4 separate regions of the Homo sapiens genome follow, and all the other regions are linked to region 4. The links are contacts of gene promoters, found by promoter capture Hi-C in blood cells and fetal thymus (Javierre and others, 2016). All regions are on one chromosome and are shown on one strand. The core of a region is centred on a gene start or on the middle of the fragment in contact, and the rest is flanking DNA. Distances in the headings are between cores, read along the strand shown. Region 1 overlaps GOT2 (glutamic-oxaloacetic transaminase 2). Region 2 holds the start of LOC107984867 (a long non-coding RNA gene). Region 3 holds the start of PRSS54 (serine protease 54). Region 4 holds the start of SETD6 (SET domain containing 6, protein lysine methyltransferase).

The links. The method cuts DNA at HindIII sites, captures the fragments that hold promoters and counts their contacts. A CHiCAGO score of 5 or more calls a contact.
Region 1: a fragment that was not itself captured here is called in contact with the fragment with the promoter of SETD6 in region 4 in 2 of 17 cell types (M2 macrophages and total CD4 T cells); the score reaches 6.4 in M2 macrophages.
Region 2: a fragment that was not itself captured here is called in contact with the fragment with the promoter of SETD6 in region 4 in 1 of 17 cell types (total CD4 T cells); the score reaches 6.3 in total CD4 T cells.
Region 3: a contact is called between the fragment with the promoter of PRSS54 here and the fragment with the promoter of SETD6 in region 4, in 2 of 17 cell types (M0 macrophages and M2 macrophages). The highest score is 6.4, in M0 macrophages.

The regions. Positions count from the first base shown.
Region 1 is chr16:58,716,695-58,719,758 of GRCh38, forward strand. It overlaps GOT2 (glutamic-oxaloacetic transaminase 2), which reads right to left. Exons shown (of 10, transcript NM_002080.4): 4 at 2,502-2,561; 5 at 1,833-1,994; 6 at 1,502-1,606; 7 at 1-119. Among named protein-coding and RNA genes, the nearest start is that of GOT2, 16 kb to the right of the region's middle. RefSeq lists an enhancer at 1,361-2,560. The HindIII fragment of the contact is 2,345 bases long and covers 142-2,486 here.
Region 2 is chr16:58,749,392-58,752,396 of GRCh38, forward strand. LOC107984867 (a long non-coding RNA gene) reads left to right here and starts at 279. Exons shown (of 3, transcript XR_001752227.2): 1 at 279-722. The HindIII fragment of the contact is 1,284 bases long and covers 904-2,187 here.
Region 3 is chr16:58,293,470-58,296,300 of GRCh38, forward strand. PRSS54 (serine protease 54) reads right to left here and starts at 1,556. Exons shown (of 7, transcript NM_001305173.2): 1 at 1,418-1,556; 2 at 516-740; 3 at 263-353. The coding sequence starts at 347. The HindIII fragment of the contact is 4,073 bases long and covers 1-1,720 here.
Region 4 is chr16:58,514,201-58,517,306 of GRCh38, forward strand. SETD6 (SET domain containing 6, protein lysine methyltransferase) reads left to right here and starts at 1,317. Exons shown (of 8, transcript NM_001160305.4): 1 at 1,317-1,364; 2 at 1,591-1,897; 3 at 2,002-2,143; 4 at 2,278-2,472; 5 at 2,608-2,728. The coding sequence starts at 1,338. It also overlaps a transcript of NDRG4 not described here. RefSeq lists enhancers at 992-1,161, 2,202-2,371, 3,021-3,106 and a silencer at 1,282-1,941. The HindIII fragment of the contact is 14,988 bases long and covers 128-3,106 here.

The DNA.
Region 1 (3,064 bases), core at 64-2,563, 200 kb after region 4:
CAGAGGCAAACATTAATGCCCTGTTCGATGAAGTGGCGCACAGCCCAGGCATCCTTATCACCATCACCACTGGCAAAGCCTTGGTAGGCCATGTCAAAGAACGCAAAGAGATTCCTTTTCTGAGAAGGAACGAAAGATCGAAGCTTTAGCAGTCTTTCTGAAGAGGCCCCAGATGTTTATAAAAGTCTGAAAGATGTTTATGTGAGGTGGGCATGGTCCCAATAAGCACAATAAGCCTTTTCTGGGGCTAACGTAATCCTGGAAGACTCAACTTATACCCAGGACTCACGAGACAACATCATTAGAACCATTTTATCTTGAAAGTGCTCTCCAAATGCTGTTTCTGTCTCATTCTGTTTGCAGCTTAGATTTGACAGAAGTTAAAGAAAGGGAAACTGGCCAGGCATGGTGGCCCATGTCTATAATCCCAGCACTTTGGGAGGCCAAGGTGGGAGGATCACTTGAGCCCAGGAGTTTGAGATCAGCCTGGGCAACAAAGTGAGATGCTGTCTCTGTGAAAAATAGGAAGAATTAGCCAGGCAGGTGTGGCACACATGTCTGTAGTCCCAGCTACTCAGGGGCTGAGGTAGGAGGATTGTTTGAGCCCTGGAGGTAGAGGCTGCTGTGAGCTGTGACTGTGCCACTGCGTTCTGGCTTAAGGCGACAGAGTGAGACTCTGTCTCAAAAGAAAAAAAAAGAGAGAGAGAGAAAAGAAAGGGAAATGAAAAGGAGTGAAAAGGGAAAACAGGGACATGAGACAACAGGAATAACATTTTCCTCCCTAGGAATTTTGACTAGTGTCTTCTCTGACAGCTGGCTACACTTTGAGAGTGATCATGGCAATGCTGCAAAGGAGAGGACATGAAAAAGTGTTTAAAAAGATCAATAAGCAACCACTGACCAGGGCGAATATAGGCATCAACAGCAGACATCCTGGGGCCAGTGGACAGGTTTTATCAGAGTTCCCTACATCCAGGATGAGGAAAAAAATTATTTTCTTTTTTTCTTTTTTAGAGACAGAGTTTTGCTCTTGTTGCCCAGGCTGGAGTGCAGTGGCACAATCTCGGCTCACCACAATCTCCACCTCCTGGGTTCAAGTGATTCTCCTGCCTCAGCCTCCCAAGTAGCTAGGATTACAGGCATGGGCCACTACGCCCAGCTAATTTTGTAGTTTTAGTAGAGACGGGGTTTCACCATGTTGGCCAGGCTGGTCTCGAACTGACCTCAGGTGATCCACCTGCCTCGACCTCCCAAAGTGCTGGGATTACAGGCGTGAGCCACCGCGCCCAGCCAAAAAAAATTACTTTCAAATACTCATGCGTCATCAATCCCAGAACTGCTAATCACGCAAATGGGGAGCCCTTTTCTGGCAGCTTATCCACCTGTGTGGACATTTCACGCAGGTTCGAGGTTAAGACTCTCTGTTGAGACATTGCCAAATTAAGCCTCCAAAGCTGGTTACTAAACACAGAACTGTCGCCAGTGAGTTCATCGTCCTCACCTTCACCACTGTTGCTATTTCCTTCCACTGTTCCGGACGCGGGTCCACTCCCGTGGGATTGTGGGCGCAGGCATGCAGAAGAAGAACACTCTGCTCTGGTATTTTCTAAAGAGAAAAACAGCCAAGAGACGACTTTGCAGCTTTAAAGGAAATGGTTTATCTGAAATGCCACAGGATCGTCATCATTTGATAAGTAACAAAGGTAACCAGAACCCTGGGAATCAGCTCTTCCCCAGTATTTTAACTCAGATATTGGGACATGGTGGGAGACATCAAATGTCCGCAAGCAAGGAGTTTTATTCACCTCTCTCACCCTGAAAGCCACACTTACTGAAATATCCTCCACAGCGCCTGTGAAGTCAAAACCGCAAGTCTTGGGGTCATAATACCGATAACCTTGTAGCTGCATGCCAGCATCCCTGAAGATGGGTGTGTGGTTTCCCCAGGTTGGTTTGGGCAGAAAGACATCTCGGCTGAACTTAAAAAATCTTTGCTAAAAGATGGGACGAAAGGAAACAGAAAAATGAACAAAGGAGAGGCAAAAAAATGTTGATGTGTTTTATTGAGAGAACATTTTTCTCTGCTGAAACCCAGTTTCTCTCTATGGTTGAGAAGCAGTATTGACTCAGCAGTAAGACTGCCTGGGTTGGAATAGTCTCTGACAGTTATACTGGCCATGTAGCCAAGGACCTTTCTGGGTCTTGCTTTCTTCACTTGTAAAGGGGGTTAATTGTACCTCTCTCATAGGGATTAAACAAGTTAAAATGCAAAAGCTCCCTAGTAAATAGTAAGTTCCTAGTGAACTGAATTTATCATCATCACTAATATATCTTTCCTGTAATTTCTTCAAAGTCCTTTCATTTTTTCATGAGAATAGGACATCTGCAAACTTCACGGAAAGAAGAAATCTACTTCTGCATCAACAGTCAAATACACACACAACAGGAAGCCCTGTCATCTGGAATTTATAATTCTTTCCTGAAGAAGCTTCCAGACTCACCAGAAAACTGGCTCCGATCCTTAAGGCTCCAGTTCCAGAAATGGTCTGCACAGTGACAAACTGAAGGAGAGATACCCACGGTCAGTGATGTGCAACACTCTCTATACAGGCCCAGACCCAGGGCCACTGCTTTGTCCAGGACCTTTCATACTTCAGAAGCTCATTCTTTATGGCCTGTCAGTATCATTTCATGTTACACGGGAAACTTTCAGAACACAAAAATTCCTCCTCAATATGAAAAAGGGGTGAATTATATAAAAGATATAAAAAGACACTGAGAGGCTGGGTGCGGTGGCTCATGCCTGTAATCCCAGAACTTTAGGAGGCCAAGGCGGGTGGATCACCTGAGGTCAGGAGTTCGAGACCAGCCTGGCCAACATGGCGAGACCCTGTCTCTACTAAAACAAAAATTAGCTGGGCATGGTGGCGCATGCCTGTAATCCCAGCTACTGGAAAGGCTGAGGCATGAGAATTGCTTGAACCTGCGAAGTGGAGGATGCAGTGAGCCGAGACTGTGCCATTGCATTCTAGCATGGGCAAAAGAGTGAGACTCTGTCTCAAAA
Region 2 (3,005 bases), core at 296-2,795, 240 kb after region 4:
ATCTAGCTCAAGGTTCCTAAACACACCAATCAGCACCCTGTGTCTAGCTCAGGGTTTGTAAATACACCAATCAACACTCTTATCTAGCTAATCTAGTGGGGAGGTGGAGCACTTTTGTGTCTAGCTCAGGGATTGTAAATGCACCAATCAGCATCCTGTCAAAACGGACCAATCAGCTCTCAGTGAAACAGACCAATTGGCTCTCTGTAAAATGGACCAATCAGCAGGATGTGGGTGGGGCCAGATAAGAATAAAAGCAGGCTGCCTGAGGTTGCGGTGGTAACATGTTTCGGCGTCCTTCCACACTGTCGCGGCTTATGTTGTTTTGCTGTTTGGGTTTGCACTGTCTTTTTGAGCTGTAACACAGCAAAGGTTTGCAGTTTCGCTCCTGAAATCATCGAGACCACAAACCCACCGGGAAGAACGAACAACTCCAGACGCACCGCTTTAAGAGCTGTAATACTCGTTAGGAAGGTGTGCAGCTTGACTCCTGAGTCAGCGAGACCATGAACCCATCAGAAGGAAAAAACTCCGAACATCAGAAGGAACAAGTTTCAGACACGCCACCTTTAAGAACTGTGATACTCACCGCGAGGGCCCGCGGCTTCATTCTTGAAGTCCGTGAGACCAAGAACCTACCAATTCCGAATACGTTGGGTTCAAGTGGTTCTCCTGCCTCAGACTCCCGAATACCTGGGACTACAGGCACCCACCACGCCCGGGTAATTTTTTGTATCTTTAGTCGAGGTGAGGTTTCACCATGTTGGCTAGGCTCGTCTCAAAATACTGACCTCGTAATCCGCGCCGCCTCAGCCTCACAAAGTGCTGCGATTACCTGCGCCCTACCGCTCCCACCCCAATCGTGTTGAAATTGTGTAGTATAGAATTCTATAAATTTGAAAAAGCTTTTAGAGGTTAGTTGGAGCAGTGCTTCTCATGTTGCACATCACCTTGAGAACTTGTGAAATTGCAGGTCGTGAGTCAGCATGGTGTTGTAGGGTGAGGGGAGTGACTGTGCTGTGTTTTTCGAGACGGGGGCGGGTCTCACTTTGTTGCCCAGGTGGGAGTGCAGTGGTGCAAACAAGGCTCATTGCAGCCTTGATCTCCGGGGCTCAAGCTGGCTGTTGACCTCAGCCTTCTGAGTAGCTGGGACTTCAGGCGTACATCACCACACCCAGCTAGTTTTAGTATTTTTTCGTAAAGATAGGATTTTGCCATGTTGGCCAGGCTAGTCTTGAACTTCTGAGCTCAAGCAATCCACCAACCTTGGCCTTTGAAAGTGCTGGGATTACAGATGTGAACTACAATGCCTGGCTGCTTATGTATTTTTATTTTTTATTTCTTAAAATATTTATTTGAGATGGAGTCTTGCTCTGTTGCTCAGACTGGAGTGCACGGTGGCACGATCTTGGCTCACTGCAACCTCTGCCTCCCAGGTTCAAGAGATTCTGCTGCCTCAGCCTCCCGAGCAGCTGGGATTCTAGGTGCCTGCCAACATGCCTGGCTCACTTTTGTATTTTTAGTGGAGATGGGTTTCACCATCTTGGCCAGGCTGGTGTCGAACTCCTGACCTTAGGCAATCCACCCACCTTGGCCTCTGAAAGTGCTGGGATTACAGGCGTGAGCCACCACATCCGGCCTTCTTTTTTTTTTTTTTTTTTTTTTTTTTGAAACAGGGGTCTTGCTCTGTCACCCAGGCTGGAGAGCAGTGGCACGATCATGGCTCACTGAGGGGATTCAGACAAACCCCAGGCCTGAGCTTGCAGAGTATGGAGAGCAGGGAGAGGGGTGCAGTCATTGACTTCAAAGTCAAGACTTCAGGCTTTACTGGGGAGAGATTCTCTGTGCTCAATAGTAAGGATTTTTTTTTTTTTTTTAGTTTTATTTTTAAATGTTTATTTATTTAGAGGATTGGGTTAGGAAACTGGCTAATTTTTGTATTTTGGTAGAGACGAGGTTTTGCCATGTTGCCCAGGCTGGCCTCGAACTCCTGGGCACAAGTGATCCCTCTCCTTTCCAAAGTGCTGGGATTACAGGCGTGAGCCACTGCACCTGGCCAATAGTTAGGATTTGTGCTCTGCCCTCCTAACCACAATTTGGAGAAACAAACCAGTATACAAATTCACAGCACTTAATTCCTTCAAATAGTTCTGTTTAAATCATGCTGGTGTTAAAGGAAAAACATCAAGCTTTTAAAGAATTAAAGATAGTTTTATTTAGAAGTCTTACTGAGGGCTAGAAACCGAAGCCTACAGCCTGGGAGTGGCCTGTTAGAGATGTCCTATCAGACTGTTCCGGAAGTGCCTACTGCTCGTACACAGGTGGCAGAGGTTCAGTATGTGTAAAATCACATCCAGGCCAGGCACAGTGGCCCATGCCTGTAATTCCAGCACTTTAGGAGGTCGAGGCAGGTGGATCACCTGAGGTCAGGAGTTTGAGACCAGCCTGGCCAACATGGCAAAACCCCATCTCTACTAAAAATACAAACATTAGCTGGATGTGGTGGTGCACTCCTGTAGTCCCAGCTACTTGGGAAGCTGAGGCAGGAGAATCGCTTGAACCCTGGAGGCAGAGGTTGCAGTGAGCCAAGACTGCACTCCAGCCTGGCGACAGAGCACTCCGTCTCAAAAAACAAACAAAACAAAACAACAAAAAAAACTGGTTGTAGCTTACAGAAGCATAACCACTAACTCTACTGGACGTTATCTTAAGTGTAAGAAAAGGCAAGGCAAGGATCATTTACCTTAAAAAAAAAATTTTTTTTGAGAATGGGTCTTGCCATGTTGCCCAGGCTGATCTCTAACTCCTGGTCCCACAATTCTCCTGACTTGGCCTCCCAAAGTATTGGGATTACAGGCATGAGCTACTGCACCTGGCCTCAATTGATCCTTTTAAGGAATGTATTGACTCAGGCGAGGGATGTGGGAGGCTGTGCGCTCTGTCCTCTTCTGACTTCAAGACATTCTTCCTGAGAGCTGTATTTTATCAGAGTCGGGGGTTCAAAC
Region 3 (2,831 bases), core at 306-2,805, 220 kb before region 4:
CCCTGTACCCAGAGGGCCTTATTTTCCTAACCACACTCCCACCCTAAGGATTGGCCCTGACTTTAGTTTCCTCCATCCACGTCCCATGATTCACTTCTTTGCCTGGTTCCTGCCACCAATGCAGGCCGCCCGGTGCAAAGTGCCGTGAGTCATCTTCCCTGAGCCCCTCCTTGGACATTAAGGACCACTTCATCTTCCCGGATGATCCCCTTCTGTGCCACGTGTGCAGCTAAAGTCAGAGGGAGGAAAGCAGCACACTCACTGGTGGAAGAATAGAGAAGGCCGAGCAGCACCAGGAGCACCCCTCGCATCTTGCCATCCCCAGAGAGACCCGCCGCGGACACCATGGGCAGCTGGGGAAACAAAACCCAATGACTCCATCCTCTTCCCAAACACATGCAGGGTTTTCTATGCCTCTTTTTTCCATCCTCTTCCCAAACACACATGTTCCCTCCCAAACATCAGAGGCTCCCCCTCTTTCTACTAACAAAGGTTCCAAGATGTAGGGCACTGACCTGTCTTATCCCTAGTGCTTGGTTCTGTGTGGTAAAGAGGCAGGACCAGTTGGCCCGCACTGTGGTTTGTGAGATGGCCAGAGAAGAGAGGGCAGCTTACTCTTGTCAGTTTTCTTCTCAATCCAGCCCAAGCCCCTGAGCACCCCAGAGAGTTGGGTCTCTGAAAAGGGCTGCTTTTTGACTCGTGGAATTCAACCCTTGCCTTAACTCTGTAGCCATAAAATGCTGCTGAAAGAAAAGTAGAGTTTTAGTGGAAGCCCACCCTGGGATTAATGCCTCTGCTGTGGTTTTACCCTTCTAAACTCTGCTGGCTAAAAGAACGCTAGGGCTTCTGTTAACTGTTAACAGCCTGTTTTTTTGTTTTTTATTTTATTTTATTTTTTTTGAGACTGAGTCTCGCTCCCTTGGCAGGCTGGAGTGCAGTGGCACGAGCTTGGCTCACTGCAACCTCTGCCTCCCAGGTTCAAGCGATTTTCCTGCCTCAGCTTCCTGAGTAGCTGGGACTACAGATGTGCGCCACCACGCCCAGCTAATTTTTGTATTATTTTGTAATATTTTGTAATATTTGTATTTTTAGTACAGATGGGGTTTCGTCACGTTGGCCAGGCTGGTCTCGAACTCCTGACCTCAGGTGATCCACCCGCCTCAGTCTCCCAAAGTGCTGGGATTACCAGCGTGAGCCACCGTGCCCGGCCAATAGCCTGTATCTTTACATAGGAACAGCCCCAGCATTTAGCTTAGTTCATTTGCAAAACCGCGGTAGGAAGTAGACACTCGAGTTATCGCCATTTTACAGATTCAGAAACTGATACTCAGAGACATCAACTAGCCAGTCCAAGGTCACACAGCTGTCAAGCAATGCACAGAAGCCCAAGGAACCCATGTGCACAGTTCTAAGTCACCATGTTCCACTCATGACACTGGATGCCTCTTGTCCTCAGAATGGTCCTCAGAGTTCGTCCATGAACTGTTCCTGCTCAAGGAGAAATGAACTCAGGCTGGCCTGACACAGTAGAGTTCAACAGAAGGATTTCTTCTACTGCCTTGGGAAGAATGTTCCATTGTGGCATCACGGTTACCATGGCACCACCAAGCAACTGTCTGGACATGGGGACTTACGAGGAGCTAGGATGAAAGGCCTCCTTGTTGCTTAGCCTTGGCAGGGCTCTTCTGGAAGCCAGGCTCTCTCCTAGTCTGAGAAGGCAAGCTTTTTGCTGGATTACAAAGTCTTCTCTGGTCGTGGCCACGGTCTGTCTACCCCACTCAGCGCCCGCCCTGTGTCCACACATGCTTGTCAGACTGGACTGAGGAAGCCCACAACTGGGGTGGGTTTGGAATTTCCAGTCCCCGTCAGCATCTTACACTCCCAGGGTGGTTTCTTTCAGACTTAGCCCAGTTTTCTTTAGCCTCTCAGTTTCCGGGTCCAATCTAAGCTACCAGACCAGCTCTGCCAAACCAGAGGCCCAGATGGGATCTGCCACTCCAGCCACTGTGAGCAGCTTTGGTTTCAGCCCAAATGCCAGGACTCGAGAAGTGTCGACAAGGTTGAGGTAAGATGTTAATTCCACGGAGCCACAGGGGGAGGGTGGGCGCACAGGCCTCTGGTGCAGACGCTCAGAAGATCCTTACTGGATGGGTAGATGAATGGCTGATGGAAGGCAGGAAGGCTGGTGAGAAAGTGGAAACTGGCTGGGCACGGTGGCTCACGCCTATAATCCCAGCACTTTGCGAAGCCGAGGCAGGCAAATTGCTTGAGCTCAGGAGTTTGAGGCCAGACTGGGTAACATGGTGAGACCCTGTCTTTTACCAAAAATACAAAAATTTAGCCAGGCGTGGTGGCACACACCTATAGTCCCAGGTACTCGGGAAGCTGAGGTGGAGGTTGCAGTGAGCTGAGATCGCACCACTGCACTACAGCTTGGGCGACAGAGTGACAGCCTGTCTCAAAATAATAATAATAATAATAAAGTGAGGCCTGAGTCCAAAGGGAGCCGCTACCTCCTTCCCCCATGGTTCCCCTGATGTCCTGCCGGCTTCACCACCCTCCCTCACCTTTAACCCTGGGCAGGGGGGCGGGGGTATTGGCTTCTGCTACAAGAACAGAAAATTTTTGGCAGTGGGAGAAGTGCGAGTTGATTCTTTAATTTGTTCCACATCACAGGTATCAAAAAGCTGTATTTTAAATTTTTATTTTTTATTGTTTTTAGAGACAAGTTCTTGCTCTGTTGTCCAGGCTAGAGTACAGTGGTGCAATCACAGCTCACTGCAGCCTCGAACTCCTGGGCTCAAGTGATCCTCCAGCCTCAGCCTCCCAAG
Region 4 (3,106 bases), core at 67-2,566:
TCACCTATGTATAACCTAAACTAAAATACCGTGTTAGAGGAGCCTCACAAGATTACTCCTGGGCTACAGGCCTCAGTCTATAGTCCTCAATAAGGCTTCTAAATAAAACTAATTTTAATTATTTAAAAGCTTAATATTTTTTCTTTAGTCAACATACCAATCCTTACATTAATTCTACAGAGTAGGTATTATCTTAGTTTCGCAGGTGAGGAGACTAAGGTTCAGGAAAAAGGATTTGCCTGAGTAACAGACCAGGCCGCGCGCGGTGGCTCACGCCTGTAATCCTAGCACTCTGGGAGGCCGAGGCGGGGGGATTGCCTGAGCTCAGGAGTTCGAGACCAGCCTGGGCAACGCGGTGAAACCCCGACTCTACTAAAAATAAACACAAAAAATTAGCTGGGCATGGCAGCGTACGCCTGTAGTCCCAGCTACTTGGGAGGCTGAGGCAGGGGAATTGCTTGAACCCGGGAGGTGGAGGTTGCAGTGAGCCGAGATCGCACCACTGCACTCCAGCCTGGGCGAGACTCCCGTCTCCCCAACGCGCCAAAAAAAAAAAAAAAAAAAAGGAAAAAAAAAAAAAACTGAGTGTTGAGCTGCGGCGTTGCTTGGCTTCAAAACCCATTCCTGTAACCTCTATATTCACAGCCTCATTTTCTTACATTTAACAGCATGCTACTTCCCCAGGTTTAACCACCATTTGTTTTATTCATTTATTTACCCAATAGGTAGATATTGAGTCCCTACTATGTCAGCTAATAAAACCCACCACGTGCTATGCAGCAGATTAAAAACGAGGATGTACTGGCAAATAAGGGCAGAGAGGATCTATTCTAGATCCAGGAGCCCTCTAGGCCACGCCACTCTGAAACACACACGAAAACTGCTCTGAACGAATACCACCAGTAAAAGGGTTCCATGGCCATCGGCAACAAGGGGTCGAGATCAGGAGGTCGCTCGCCGCCCAGTTGCGTCGCTCACCACCGGCCGGCCACCAGACCCTCGGCTTCCGATCCAGAAACCGTATTTTGTTCTTGCACCCAGACCGCAAGAAGCCTCAGCCCTCGGGGACAGACCGAAGGCCAGGGCTGTACCTGGCTCAGAACCAGGCGCCAAGCGGCACGGGACTCTCCTTCTGCACTCGCAGCGCGTGAGTGCAATTGGAGATCCTGGACTCAAGATGTTTTCATGAGGAACGATTCCAGCCCGCGGTAACTCCGGCCAGTCTGCAGCGTGGACGACAAAACAGGCACCACGTGGTTCCGGCGCCGGGGCGGGGCCAGAGACGCCGGAAGTGACCGCGCGGTGCGCCGGCCCGCGAGGAAACGCGCTCTTAGACCATGGCGACCCAGGCGAAGCGTCCACGGGTGAGTGGCGGGCGCGGGGTCCAGCCTTTTCCTCCGCGCCTCACCCCTTCTCCGTTCGCAGAACCGTCCGCCTGCGCCCCCTCCGCTCCCTCCCGCGGGTCCCGCGCCCCTCTCCGCTCGTCCCCTCCTCCACCCAAAGCCCGTTCTGCGCTCGCGCCGCGGTCTCCTGCAGTTCCCAGCGGCCTCTCTGGGGGTCGGACCTGGTCACTGCGCGCACTTATCTCAGGTGGCGGGGCCCGTGGACGGCGGCGACCTGGATCCTGTGGCCTGCTTCCTGAGCTGGTGCCGGCGGGTGGGGCTGGAGCTGAGTCCCAAGGTGAGCGAGCGAGCCGGCGGGCGGAGGACCCGCGGCGGGGCGCGGGCTGCCCTGACCAGCCCTCCTGCTCAGGTGGCGGTCAGCCGGCAGGGCACGGTGGCCGGCTACGGCATGGTGGCCCGGGAGAGCGTGCAGGCCGGAGAGCTGTTGTTCGTGGTGCCGCGGGCCGCGCTCCTGTCGCAGCACACCTGCTCCATCGGCGGCCTGCTGGAGCGAGGTGGGCACGGCGGCGGGCTAGGGCCCTGGGGCGGGGCGGGGCGGGGCGGGGCGGGCCCGGCCCGCGAGGCCGCGCCGGGGCGCTCACACCTGTGTCTTCCTCAGAGCGAGTTGCGCTGCAGAGCCAGTCGGGCTGGGTGCCACTGCTGCTGGCGCTGCTCCACGAGCTGCAGGCCCCGGCCTCACGCTGGAGGCCCTACTTTGCGCTCTGGCCCGAGCTGGGCCGCTTGGAGCACCCGATGTTCTGGTGAGAGCCTTGGGAGGGGTTGGGGAGCGCCTGCACCGTAGCCTGCTGCAAGAAGTTTCCCCGCCCCTGCACCAGTCCTACCCAGTAAAGTGTGTGAAGGAATGAAGGGAACCTGGGTGTGGGTGTCCCTGCAGGCCAGAGGAGGAGCGCCGGTGCCTGCTCCAGGGCACAGGCGTACCTGAGGCCGTGGAGAAGGATTTGGCCAACATCCGCAGCGAGTACCAGTCCATCGTGCTGCCCTTCATGGAAGCCCACCCCGATCTCTTCAGCCTCAGGGTTCGCTCCCTAGAACTCTACCACCAGCTGGTGGCCCTTGTGATGGCCTATAGGTCAGTGGGTGGGGCCTCTGAGGACGGAACCCTTTTCTTTACAACTCTATAGAGGGACAAAAGTGGAAAAACAGTGAAATCCACCCCCAGTCCCTCACCCAAGACAGGGCCTTAGCCAGGTTCTGTCAATGGCAGCTTTCAGGAACCACTGGAGGAAGAAGAGGATGAAAAGGAGCCCAACTCCCCCGTGATGGTGCCTGCTGCAGACATACTAAACCACTTAGCCAATCACAACGCCAATCTAGAATACTCTGCGGTGAGTGGAGTTTCTCTTGGTGCACTGATTGAGCATGATTCAAGCCATTGTGTCTTAGGCTCCATTCTCTTACTAGTGCTACAAAATGAGTAGGTGAAATCAGCTCCTCCTGTATGTCCTTTTAGTATGCATATTACTGTAGAATCATTTGAATGCGAAACATTTTAAAGTCCTCAAAGTAAGTTGTGGTTAATCCTCTGATAAACTATACTACCATCATTTATTTAGTGCTAGACATTGAGTGGTCTGCATAGCCATGTTTCATTCCTTTCTGGCTGATCACATCAGTGAGCCCAGACTGTGTGTGGCTCTGTGGATAGCAGCCTGGAACAGTGATAGTCTCCGTGTTTTGGAGGGATGAGGACATTCACAGGCCAA